2 separate regions of the Homo sapiens genome follow, and region 2 is linked to region 1. Evidence: promoter capture Hi-C in 16 types of primary human blood cells and fetal thymus (Javierre and others, 2016). All regions are on one chromosome and are shown on one strand. Each heading gives the region's core, a stretch centred on a gene start or on the middle of the fragment in contact. The rest is flanking DNA. Distances are from core to core; before and after follow the strand shown. Region 1 holds the start of ANKK1 (ankyrin repeat and kinase domain containing 1). Region 2 overlaps LINC02762 (long intergenic non-protein coding RNA 2762).

Evidence for each region. The method cuts DNA at HindIII sites, captures the fragments that hold promoters and counts their contacts. A CHiCAGO score of 5 or more calls a contact.
Region 2: a fragment that was not itself captured here is called in contact with the fragment with the promoter of ANKK1 in region 1 in 1 of 17 cell types (naive B cells); the score reaches 5.0 in naive B cells.

What each region holds. Positions count from the first base shown.
Region 1 is chr11:113,385,495-113,391,521 of GRCh38, reverse strand. ANKK1 (ankyrin repeat and kinase domain containing 1) reads right to left here and starts at 3,743. Exons shown (of 8, transcript NM_178510.2): 1 at 3,453-3,743. The coding sequence starts at 3,637. The HindIII fragment of the contact is 6,156 bases long and covers 3,401-6,027 here.
Region 2 is chr11:112,291,711-112,297,737 of GRCh38, reverse strand. It overlaps LINC02762 (long intergenic non-protein coding RNA 2762), which reads right to left. Exons shown (of 4, transcript NR_126004.1): 2 at 3,809-4,011. Among named protein-coding and RNA genes, the nearest start is that of LINC02762, 24 kb to the right of the region's middle. The HindIII fragment of the contact is 602 bases long and covers 3,267-3,868 here.

The sequences.
Region 1 (6,027 bases), core at 2,494-4,993:
CAAGCTGACCACTTCTCACCACCTCTCCCCCAAGGTGCATCTCAGCCCAAGCCTCCTAATTGGACTCTGTTTCTCCCGCTTCCTCTCCACAATCTATTCTCAACCCAGCAGCCAAAGTCATATTTTAAAATCTAAGTCACAACATGTCACTGCCCTTCTCCAATGGCTCTCCTCATTCACAGTAAAAGCCAAAGTTCTTTCATGGCTGAGAAAGTCCTACAAGATTTGTCCCCAATGCCAGGCATAGCTTGCTGACCTCCTTTCCTAATCACCCTCCTCTCATTGTGCCCCTGGCACACGGGCTTCCCACTGTTCCTCCACCATGCCCAGTGTGGTCCCACCTCAGGACCTTTGCACCTGTTGTTCTCTCTGCCTAGAACACTCCTCCCTAACAGAGCCACATGGATTACCCCTTCATTTCCTTCAAATCTCTACTCAAATGGTACCTAATTAGTATGGATTTCACAGAGAAGTCTACATAAAAAAGCAACCCCATTCCAACTCTTATATTCCCCATACACAGAGGGCCCTGGCATTAATATTTTTAGACCAACCCATTTCTTGGAAAATCAGACTTCTCAACCCTTCTTAGATATTTTAATCAAGAACTGTCAGGTGGTCATGAGTGCTATAGCTAAAAAGTTTATTATTCATTTGCTATTTATTTTGTCTTCCTCCTTTAGACTATAAGCTTCATGAGGGCAAGGACTTTGTTTTTTTCACGTAGTGCTTGGAATGAATGCATCTCCTCCATGCCTTTTTTTTGCTTTGTTTTTTTTTTTTTTTGAGACCAAGTCTCACTTTTGTTGCCCAGGCTGGAGTGCAATGGCATGATCTTGGCTCACTGCAACCTCTGCCTCCTGGGTTCAAGCAATTCTCCTATCTCAACCTCCTGAGTAGCTGGGACTACAGGTGCCCACCACCACGCCCAGCTAATTTATGTATTTTTAGTAGAGATGGAGTTTCACCATATTGGTCAGGCTGGTCTTGCCTGACCTCAGGTGATCCACCAGCCTTGGCCTCTCAAAGTGCTGGGATTACAAGCGTGAGCCACCAGGCCCAGCCTGATGCCCTAGTTTTAATGACCACTTATAACAAATGACTCCCAAGTTTTAATATTGTTAGCACCAACCTTTACTCTGATGTCCATGACAACTCTTCTTGGTTGTTTAAAGGCATCTGAAACTCAACAGGTACAAAGCTGAACTCATGATCTTCCTCTCCAAGTCTAGGCCTCTTTTCATAGTCTCTCCATTAATTGTCAACACTGCCATTCAATAAATATTTATTGAACACCAACTCTGTGCCAGGCACAGGAGACAGAGCTGTGACCAAAACAGACACTCTCATGGAGTGGACATTTTAGTGGATCCTCCATTCCTTTGGGCAAGCCAGACATCAAGTTAGCTTTAATACCCCTCTTCCTCATCGTGATCCTCCCCATGACTAATCCAGCACCAAGTCGGGTGGATTTTTACCTTCTAAATATGGCTTGACCCATTCCTTTCCTATCTCCACTACCAACACTCCACTCTAGCCCCTATTATCCGTCTCTCATCAGAATGAAGATAACAATCTCCTAACTTAACCAGAATCCACTCTACCCCTCCCAATGCATTCTCCATACTGCAATTCTGATTAATCCCTCCCATGGTCACCACCGCTACCTGGTTGTAAATGCTCAGTGGTTTTCCACTGCTCTTTTACTCTCCCAACTCCAGCCATCATGGCCTTTTCCCATCTTTGTACTTACCATGCCCCTCTTGCCACAGATTCTTTGCACACTCTGTTGTCTGTTCTTGGAAAACTTTCTCCTCCTCACCTACTTAACTTATACTCATTCTTCACATTTCAGCTGTAGTGTAACTTCTTCAAGGAAGCCTTTTCTGATATCAGTCAAACTTTCTGTTAATGAGCTCTCCTAGAGCCACAAATCTCCCCTTCTTAAGCTTCTCACAGTAGCACATTTACATTTACATGTGGGGTTATCTGGTTAATGTCTTCCTCCCCCTAGGCTGCAATCTCCCGGAGAGAAAGGACACATCTGTTGCATTCATCGTTAATCCCAGGGTGTAGAACAGTGCCTGACACATAGTAGAAGAGCAGTAAGCATTTGTCAAGTGGATGAATGAATGAATAGCTGGAAAGAGGATCTAGTAAAGTAATGCACGTAAAGCTCCTAGTATAGTAATCCATACATACTAAGTCTTAATTACCATTAATTATCTTACCCCCTCCACCCAGGGAATTCCCAGAACTTGGGAAGGGAAAGTGGCAGGAGTTAGCATCAATGTCTCACAGTGTAATCATGTCACTGCCATCTGTTTCCTTTCGTTCTATATTCAAAAGGCTATAAATGATTTAGACAAATCCTAGCATACTCTGACCCTCCTCCAAAACCAACAGGCAGATGTTGAGGGAGGAAGGTGAGTGGGCCTTAGGCGATCTTATTTTTCCTCTCCTCATAAGGTGGGGGAAGGCCTGGGAACTGAGTGTGTGGCACCTGAGGCTGTATCTTAAGAGTTTGCATGGTAATCCTAGAGAACCACAGATAGCATCCAAGCCAGATGCCAGTCAGAGAGACCCCCGTCCCGGACTCTCTAATTGATGTCCCAGAGCCTTGGGAGGAGGACATGGTTATCATGCTCAGGTTTAACATCCCGAGTGTCTTCTTCATGGCTGCAAGGTGCAAGCACACAGCTAGTATATGCAACTCCAGTGGGAATGAGACTGGATTCCAAATCAGTGGGAAGACAGAGAATAATGGAAACGTAGGAAAGAGGTAGGAAGAGAAAAATAGGGGCATGTCAAGGCGTCGCTGTAGTGCGCATGACAGCAAGGGACAAAAACAAAAACAGAGATGAGAGAACTCCAGACTTGACCCTCCAAGGGCCTGGACAGGCCATCAGGCCGGGCAGTCTCCATCCCCTGACCTCCTCAGCCTGCACTGATTGGGAGGGGCCTCCTCCCTCCCGCCACCGTGGGAAGAGAGAACATGATTCCCTGCAGATCTGAGCAAAGTGCCACAGCCTCCCAGGATGCTCAGCCCTGCCCTGAGAGCTGGGGTGGGTAGGAGGATGGCAGAGAGCGGTCAAGAGCAGTTATTGCCACAGGACACCGGGGGAAGAAGGCGCTGGAGAGAAGGATGGAAGCAGGCAGGACAAGTTCGGAAGGTCAGATGGGATAAAGGCGTCTTTGGTAGGTAGTTCCCGCTTGCCTTTGACCTCTGTTGAGTCTACAAACAGGTATTATGTGCCAACTCTATTTTGGTTAGGGAGACAGGTATGGGTGTGCCTGGGAGGCTCAGGCTACTGGGTGGAATTCAGAAATACCGCGGGGGACAGTCCTCAGCCCCAAACTCAGCCCACTCCTTCCTCGCAAGCTCCCTGGGCCCAAAGCTTGCCGGGCCTCAGTTTCTCCTCCGAGAAAGGGGAGGGCGAGGCTGGCAGTACCTGGCGGCGTCGGGTGGAAGGCAGGGGGCGCACTTGATGGCGTACTCCGTCCGCCAGCGCCTGTGCCGCGCCTGGAACACCTGGCTGAAGCCGCCGCTGGCCACTAGGCGCCAGTCGCCCTCGAAGTCGTCGCGGGTGAAGACGGGGAGGCTGCCCAGCCGCAGCTCGGTGGGGTCGGCAGCCATTGCCCCTCTCTTCCTGTCCCCGCGCCGCGCACTCCCCGCTGTGGCTGCTGCCTGGGTGGCCGAAGGAGCCGCCGCTTCCTGCTCCTCGGGTCCGGGAGAGGGGAATGGGGAGACGAGCCGGCCCTGCCTCCTTCCCCGCCCAAGAGGAGCCGCTCCTGCCCCGCAAAGGTGGGGAAATCCCAGACATGAGCCCTGAGGCCCCAGCAGGGATGGAGCGACCTGGGCCTGGGGAAGAGGGTATGTCCCTCCGAAGCCCTCGCATTTCCCCTGTCTCAGCCTTTGATTTTCCCCAGTTCCCCCTAGGGAGGGATGCTGGGAGAAGGTGTCCCGAAGCTGGAAGAAGTCCAGCCTGAGAAGTTGGATCCAGTTTATTTAGGCCCAGCGCTAAGTGAAATCGGTTTATGCATTCCTTCAGTGCATTCAAGGTTTTATGGTTTATGAAGGATTCAGGCCTGGACCCCTGCCCCTATCCAGCAAGTATGGGGCTCAAACAATTTTAATGGGGATTTTCTGGTCTGAATCTGTTGGTCTGACTGGTTTCATGTTTCCTTTGTTCTTGTTGGGGTTTTGTTTGTTTGTTTGTTAGCCAGCCTTGGTGTGCTATAGGTTACCAAGGAGGGGTCAGCAGGGACAGAGTTGCGGGGGAGGCTGGGCTCCTGTCTGCAGGGGACTCCCTTCCTGGGCTGCGCTCTATCCAACCTCAGAGGGATGGACCCCAGCCTCGGGGTGGCCACGGGGGAGGTGGCCTCCTTGGCGCAGTTACTAGGGGCAGTTTGTTGCCAGGGATGAGAGGAGGCTCTAGCTGGAGCCTGACCAGTGCTGAGCTTGGAGGTTCCCCTGGGTCCTGGGTCCATGGGATTGCCCTCTCACCTTGGAGACCCTCAGAGCAGGGAAAATGACAAGTGCTTGAACAGACAGGTCTCCCCAGGGGCACTGACCAAGTGGGCCATTGCCCAGAGACAGGCATACCTGGAGGAACTGTGGCCACGGAGTGCAGAGTCAGCCACTATTTGCCTACAGCTGAGTAAGTCCACAAGGAGCCCTCAGAGTGATCACTGTTAGGTTTGAGGAGCCTACCTACCAGACAAGGAAGTGCCTTGCCTTCAGCCCAAACCTGCAGAGCCCCTCGTCCATGCCACAAGCCCACCAGACTCCCAGGGAACAGTGTAGGCATGATAGGCAAACAGAGACTCCCTGTGGAAGCTGGAGAACTTGCTCCCTCTGTAACAACTTACCTGCAACTTCCAGGATGAATTCTGGCAAGCAGATTAAGGATCAAAGATTGGGCCTGGAGACAGTTGTCATAGAAACTAGTGATAGCCACTACTAATTGAACACTCACTTTGTTCCAGGATCAGTGACTATTTCAGTTACTGCATTGCTTTACATATATTATCCTGTTTATCTTGCAACAATGTTATGAGGTCAACATCTTCTATTCACAGATGAGGAAACTGGCTTCAAGACAATAAGTAATCAATGGACACATAGCTAGTAAGTGGTAGTTGATATTCAAACTCAAGTCTCTTAGTTTCTATGGAAATGGTTGGCCAGGGGAGGATCAGGGAGTAGCCTTTTATGAATACAAAAAAGGAAGAGAGAGAGTCATGCTCCCTGGAAGAGGGTGGAGATGATGGAAACTGCATCAGGAGCAGGACGTATCCCCCAAACATATGTCAGAGGGAGGCCCCCAGCTTGCTTTGGCTGGAGCAAGACAGGGCATAACAGAACCCATTGTCTCTGGAGTAGCCCTGCCTGCCCAAGTTTAAAGCCTCTGCCAGAGAAGTTTGGAAGGTGATAAAGGACATTGTCATCAGGGAGACCAGGAGGTCAAGAGGATGTTTCATACCTTCTACTGGGAGGGTGAACATGGAGACTGGGAAGGTGACCAGCCACCCAGCTCTGCGGAAGTTTGACTGAGGCCCGATCTTTGACATTCAGCGAGACCTATCTCAGCTCCTGGAGGAAATACCAAGGGTGAATGGCCTGAGTCATTTCAGCAGTTCCCCTTGATCCACTTATACCTGAAGTGGCTCTCCAGGGAGAGGAAGTAACCAGAAGCTGCCATTGTCTGCCTGCAGAGACTGTCACAGGAATACTGAAGAAAGCATCATTCCTAGAAGAGGGGACACCCAGGGCTCAAGGCATGTTGCCAGAATCCCGAACAAAATACCTCTGAATTTCTCACAGGGGTGGAGGTGGAGGAACTGCAGGGTCAGGGCGTATTACTGCTGACCCACCTGTTGAAACTCTCTGCTGTGGGTTCAAGCACCCCTGAGGCTTCTGAGGAGTCAGTCAAAATAGATACATTCATTGACCCAGAGGGACTGGATCATTTGACTGGGCTTGTCCTGCTCCTTACAGCTGTCTAACATGGGCTAGGGCAAAGG
Region 2 (6,027 bases), core at 2,318-4,817, 1.1 Mb after region 1:
GGCCCACGGGGTTGCTTGTGAAGATCAGTGGCCCAGCACCCATGAACGCCCTTGTAAACTATAAAGTGCTCTAACAGTGGTACCTACTCCTTTTGCTTTTCCTGTCACATTTCCTCTGCTGCTTCAAAACCAAAGGAAGTGAGGCCTCATTTCTTCAGGTTTTGTCATTTAGTTTAACCCTATTTCATCCCACAAAGTCCGCAGAAGGCACAGATGAGAAAATCACCCCCTAGACCTGCCTTACTTCTGCTGAGTCCCTGCCTACTGCAGTTCTTCTCACCTCCTCCTCCACCCACCAAGGTACGTGAGACACTGGAGGAAGAGGAGAAAATGCCAACAGGTCTGATCTCCCAGGCGTAGAGATTTACAAAGCAGTCAGCACTTTTAACTAAAAGTCTTGTTCAGGATACACACAGACATTTATCATGTGGGCAGGGCCTAGCGCTCTGGTTGGATCTCAACATGGAGTCTCTTCTTTTATGTCAGATCAGGATGGGCCAACTGCAAACTGAGACAGGAGGGTCTGCTGGGAAAAAACAGGACCTGGAGAAGACCTGTGTTTAAGGCTTAACCCCAGCTCTGCCTCTAACTTACCTTATATGATTAGATGGATTATTTAATCACTCTTTCTATGTTCCCACCTCTCCTGCTGCTGTCAAACCTCAAATCTCTATTAACCATTGGAATTTTGTTAGAAAGTGATGAATAGTCCATGCAAAGGCATGTAATAAAGAATGTCTTCTATTTATAGAAATTTGATCATATTTAAAGCACTTGATAAGATGATAAACAAAGAAAATATTATCCCCATTTTATTAATTTAAAAACTGAGATTTGGGTTGATTTGTAAAATTGCTCAAAGTCTTGAAGTTTTACATGAAAGGCAGTGTCAAGAACAAAATCTGAACTTCTGACCCCTAGGCCAGTGCTCTCCCTACATTGCTAACTTCAGCGGAATGCCATTGCATGTATCTATGAAAAACCTATTTCCATTTCTACCTGCATAGAAAAAAGTAACGGTGGCAGAAGGGCCACATCCACTTTGACTGGTCCCACTTTGGAACTGAAGGAAGACTTTGGTTTCCAAATAATGTCTCTGCTAGAAAGGAAGTTTGCAAAATGTGGATCTCTCATTAAAGAGTCTTTCTGATTAGAGGGGAGTGGGAACAAGGCCAAGGAAAATGTAATGGGAGTCAGCCGGAGATGCAGGTGTGCGGTCTTATAAATTACTCAACAGTTCTTCACGAGAGCCCCCCAAGACCCCACAGCACAGTGGGAAGACGAGTGCTCCACTCTGCCCAAGGAACACATGGCCAGGAACTCCTGCTCCCCTTAGGATTGGGTCTAGGGGGTTTGATTCCAAAAGCCAAGGGTGGCAGGGACTTGCCGAGTTCAAAATAAGCCCCTTTCTCTGACAACTGCCAGTAGTCATGCTTGTACCATCTCATACACAGACACACATCCATATCGACTGGACTAGGGTGGTCACGTGACCCAAGCCCATCCAGTTCTCTCTCTCCCTGGGAGTCTGAAATTAGGACTTAGAGGCATCCAGTCAATCTGAGCTGGTTACTTGGATAAACAAGAGGAAAACTCAGGAGCTATGGGGCATCCATTTTATGCCATGCACGTGAGGAGCAAAGTCACATGTACACCCTGAACAGGACTTTGTTTGCAATTAATGTTTCTTTTACAGGGATGCAGAGGAAGAGAATGAACAAGGACTATGGGCTCCTAACAGCTTCAGAGCTCCCAGTCCCACCTCTTAAAAGGCCCAATTGTCCTGGGATCTTGTAAGATATCCCAGTATCACAATGTACTCTTTCCCCTTCCCGCACCCCGCTACCCCACAACTGGCTGTAGTTGGTTTCTATTATTAACAACCAAAGAACCGTGAATGAGACCCTAGGTAAAAGAAATTACCCACCATCTGATGACTGCTTGGCATGGCTACAAGCTACCAAAAAAGGTCTCACTCACCCTGCCTCCTCCAAAGGTGCAGGCAGCAATGAGATGTAGAAAAGCATTGGAAGGCAACCTTGGAGGCCGCGGACACTTCATAAGTGGTTTAAGGCAAGCAGAACATGACGAATAAATAAACTGAACTCATTCCCAGACCTAATTTTTTTAAGTAAAATAAAATCAGGTCCACTTAGAGTTTAAAATGGCATTTGGCTAGAAGTTCCTGACAAAGTGTCTCCAAACTTCTCCCTAAATTATTTATTACACAGAAAAATGACAAAAACTCACAACAATAATGAAAATGAAGACTAACAACCTGTTACCAGAATCTAGAAGGAATCTCTACTAACTAAATAAAGCTGCTAAAGCTGAGCTGCATTGAGACAAACAGTCCATGCTTCGCCTTAGAAAACAGAACAGCACATTGTCTCGAAAGATGATAGACATTTTCTTTCTCTCCTACTGTCTACCCCCAGTTCAGAGACCCAGGACCAAGCCAAATGAAAACCTGGCTCTCTATTATGACTGCTACTCTTTGGAGGAGCCGGAGAACTATTCCCTCTCCCTCTATCTACATCCATTCATAGAATGCAATTACTGGGAAACCACAGAGTAGGAAGGGGAAGAGGATTAGCAATGGCACGTCATGTTTTGGAAGGCATTTTTTCCACACAGCATGCCTTATAGGAAGCACAAAGGTAGTTTGTGCTGGAGAGTAAGATTTTCACATCCCCCATCAGTTCTGTTTGTTAGAGAATAGGCAGAAGAGGAAGGGAGAGATCCCATGCCAGTTCAGCAGGGCCGCACAAGATGAATGCCCTTCAATTCTGGGGAGCTGTGCACCACAACTGACCTTCAGCTACAGACCTAGGAATAAGGCAGTGAGCAAAGCCAAGGACAATCTGCACAGTCTACACTTCCTCTTTTAGCAAGCAAGCACCAAGGCTCCATGGAGCTCTACTTGCTTAAAGGTAAACAATGTGCCAGGCTGGAATTGGGGATATAGGGGAGGGAACCCTCAGGAGGCCTATGGAAAAACAGCATTCACCATAAGAGAATAAGGGAAACAGAGCCTCACCCAGAAGACTAAGAAAAAGAGCACACTTCTGAAGATAACTTACTATAGAAACCAGAAGAAAATGTTTTAAAACTGGCATTTATAATATAAAAACATAATATGGCCCTATGAAATTGAAACTGAAAAACATATATATACACATACATATATATATACACACACACAAATACATATAGATATATAGATACAGAAAACAAGCTGAGTTAAACTGATATCAGGATAAGCTTCAAAGACTGGCATGTGAGATGACATTTTAGGTTCTTACAAAAGTGTGATGGGGGGCCGGCTCCCTTGTTTATGTTAGACCTAATTGTGATTCTTTTAAAATAAACAGTGAAGCAAAACTTTTAGGATATCAAGAGAAAGCAGTTAGCTAGAAGAGTGGAGTTTTAAAAAATATGTCATCTAAAACAATATTAAACAATATTCAGATATGATCCACTCAGACTTCAGCCCCTTACTACTTGTAAGTGTTCTTCCCTCTGCAAACGTCCGAGCAAATCAGACCAGCACACACCCACTGGAGAAGAATGGCATTCTAAAGCTGCTTCTTTTTTTTGGCAGAAATGATGGGACTGTTAAAATTCAGTAATGATTTTATTACCTCATTTGAGATCATTTCATTGTCCAAGTTATTCTCTTTTTTCAGTAGCAACAGCAAATTTGGTAAGAAAGCAAAATCCAGCAGTTCTCATACAAATATTGCAAGAATTTTGTTAAAATATTTTAGGGTACATAGTGATTTCAGAATATGTATTATTATAGTACCTTTAGCTGCTGTACAAATACGTCCAATGTTTGTATCTTGGCTGAAGTACAATAAAAGCTTATCTGTCACTTACAAAAGAGCTCAAGGCAAATGTTCCCGGTTGGCAAGAGCAGCTGTCCACCCTGAGCACCCAGGCTAACAAAGTTTCTGCCACCTTCACCATGAGGCCCCAAGGTTGTCACTGTCCTCTCATGGCACTCAGCTGGAAGAGGGGAAAGAGAACAGAGGACAACTCATTAAAGGCTCTTATGGGGAAGTCCTATATGTCACACACATCACCTCCATTCACATTCTACTAACTAGAATACAGTCTCAGGGTAAATATTAGGGGCTTCAGGCTTATGAAAGAGAATTTGGCCAATGGAGTCCAAGAAAAGATATAAAGGAAACTGGTTGTAACAAGAGAAAGATATTCCCAAGAAAATTAAATTATTAAACAATAATTAAAAGTCATATAGGAAGGAGTAAATGAGTGAAATGGACATGGCAGAAAACTAAGGAATATCTTAGATGGCAAACTGGAGGAACACTTTCAGAATGCCAAGAAAGAGCACCAAGAATTAAAACTATTTCCTTAATTCTAAGATGTCTGTGTTGCCACATCATCACTTCTGAAATCAGGCCAAGTCTTGCAATCACTGGCATCTTATAATCACCCTGGGCCAGGGAGCTGCCATGGTGAGGTCATCAAGACCTGGGCATGGGTGAACTTGGTCTCAGTTGTTCATGTTGTTAGCACTTTAATTGAGTTGTATACATTGTTGCAATTACATGTGAGTTTAATTGCCATTTAAAATGTCTTTTAAAAGATTACACTATGGTTTGGCATTGAAATGAGAAGTTATTATGTATGCAGAAAGGCATGGAATTCAAGCAGCAGGATGTAATTTGATATTACTGAAGCAAATGTCTATTATTGGACCAACCACTGCAATTCTTTTTTTTTTTTTAAACTAAGTGCTTGACAGGACCCAAGAAAAGAAGGTATCCTTAAGTAGAAACTGTGTTATGTTTTGTAACTGAGACTCATGCAAAAAGAATTGCCTGTCACATGCCAAACAATGCAACCAAAGGCAGGAGCAACTGCCAAGTCCCTCAAAATAGATGAAGTCTATCAAAATAAGAGAGAGAATGGTGTGAGCAACTTACCAATTTCACAGGACTGTAATCATGGCATTATGTCACAGTTTAATTGGCAGCATTTTTTCTTCCTTAGTTGTACATATAATAATAGTGCTTCTTACAACAAATACTAGCTTAGATTCAATAAAATACAGTACTTTAAAAAGAAGACGATAGCTATGGAAGACCAGGAATAGAGATTGAGCCTAAGAGTTATGTTTCTGAAGAAGAATCTAGAACAATCAAAAGAGAAACAATAATTGAAGATATAATTAAAGAAAACTTTCCAAAAAAGTACAGAAAGGGCAAACAGAGGAATGGACTCAGTTCACCAGGTTCCAGGTAAAAGTAACCAAGAAACACTCAAATCCAGAAATATCCTGACAAGTTTTTAAATTACAAGCAAATTTTTAAGTGTTTTCTTTGTACATTCAGAAACAAAAGAAAAAGGAAGGAAGGAAGGAAGGAAGGAAGGAAGGAAGGAAGGAAGGAAAGAAGGAAGGAAGGAAGGAGGGCAAGAAGGGGAAGGGGAAGAGAAGGGAGGGAGGGAGGGATGAAAATTGTGCTGACTTTTTTGTGTCTACTACAATGGAGCAGTAGCTGACAGAGTTTTTATATGGAAAACACTTAGATGAAAATTTTACTCACAAATAAGTTTTAGTTTTTGAGGACAGACAACCAAAAGAGTTCAGAATGTCTGCCACTCACATATTCTTTAAATCACTTTAAAATATATTTCAACTGCCCAAGTGATGACTTAAAATTACTCAAGAATGGAAAAAAACAGAGCGTCAAAGGACTAGCAGTGAGTGTTGAAGCCAATTACACACAGAGAGTTGGTCTAAAACAATTGTTTAACTATGGTTACAAGACAGAATATGTGTCAAAAATACCCAAGAACCAAGAGACATACAACATCAAAAAATAATGCATGAATAATCCGATCCCAAGTCCACAAACTAATAAACTTTCAAATAGGAAAGGAGAACAGAGGGAAATAAAAGTGTACAGAATTCATCCTACACAGTTGCGAGCTTAAAAATACCATTTTATTCTTGACTTTAACAACCAGAGAAATATTGATTGGTGCTCACAT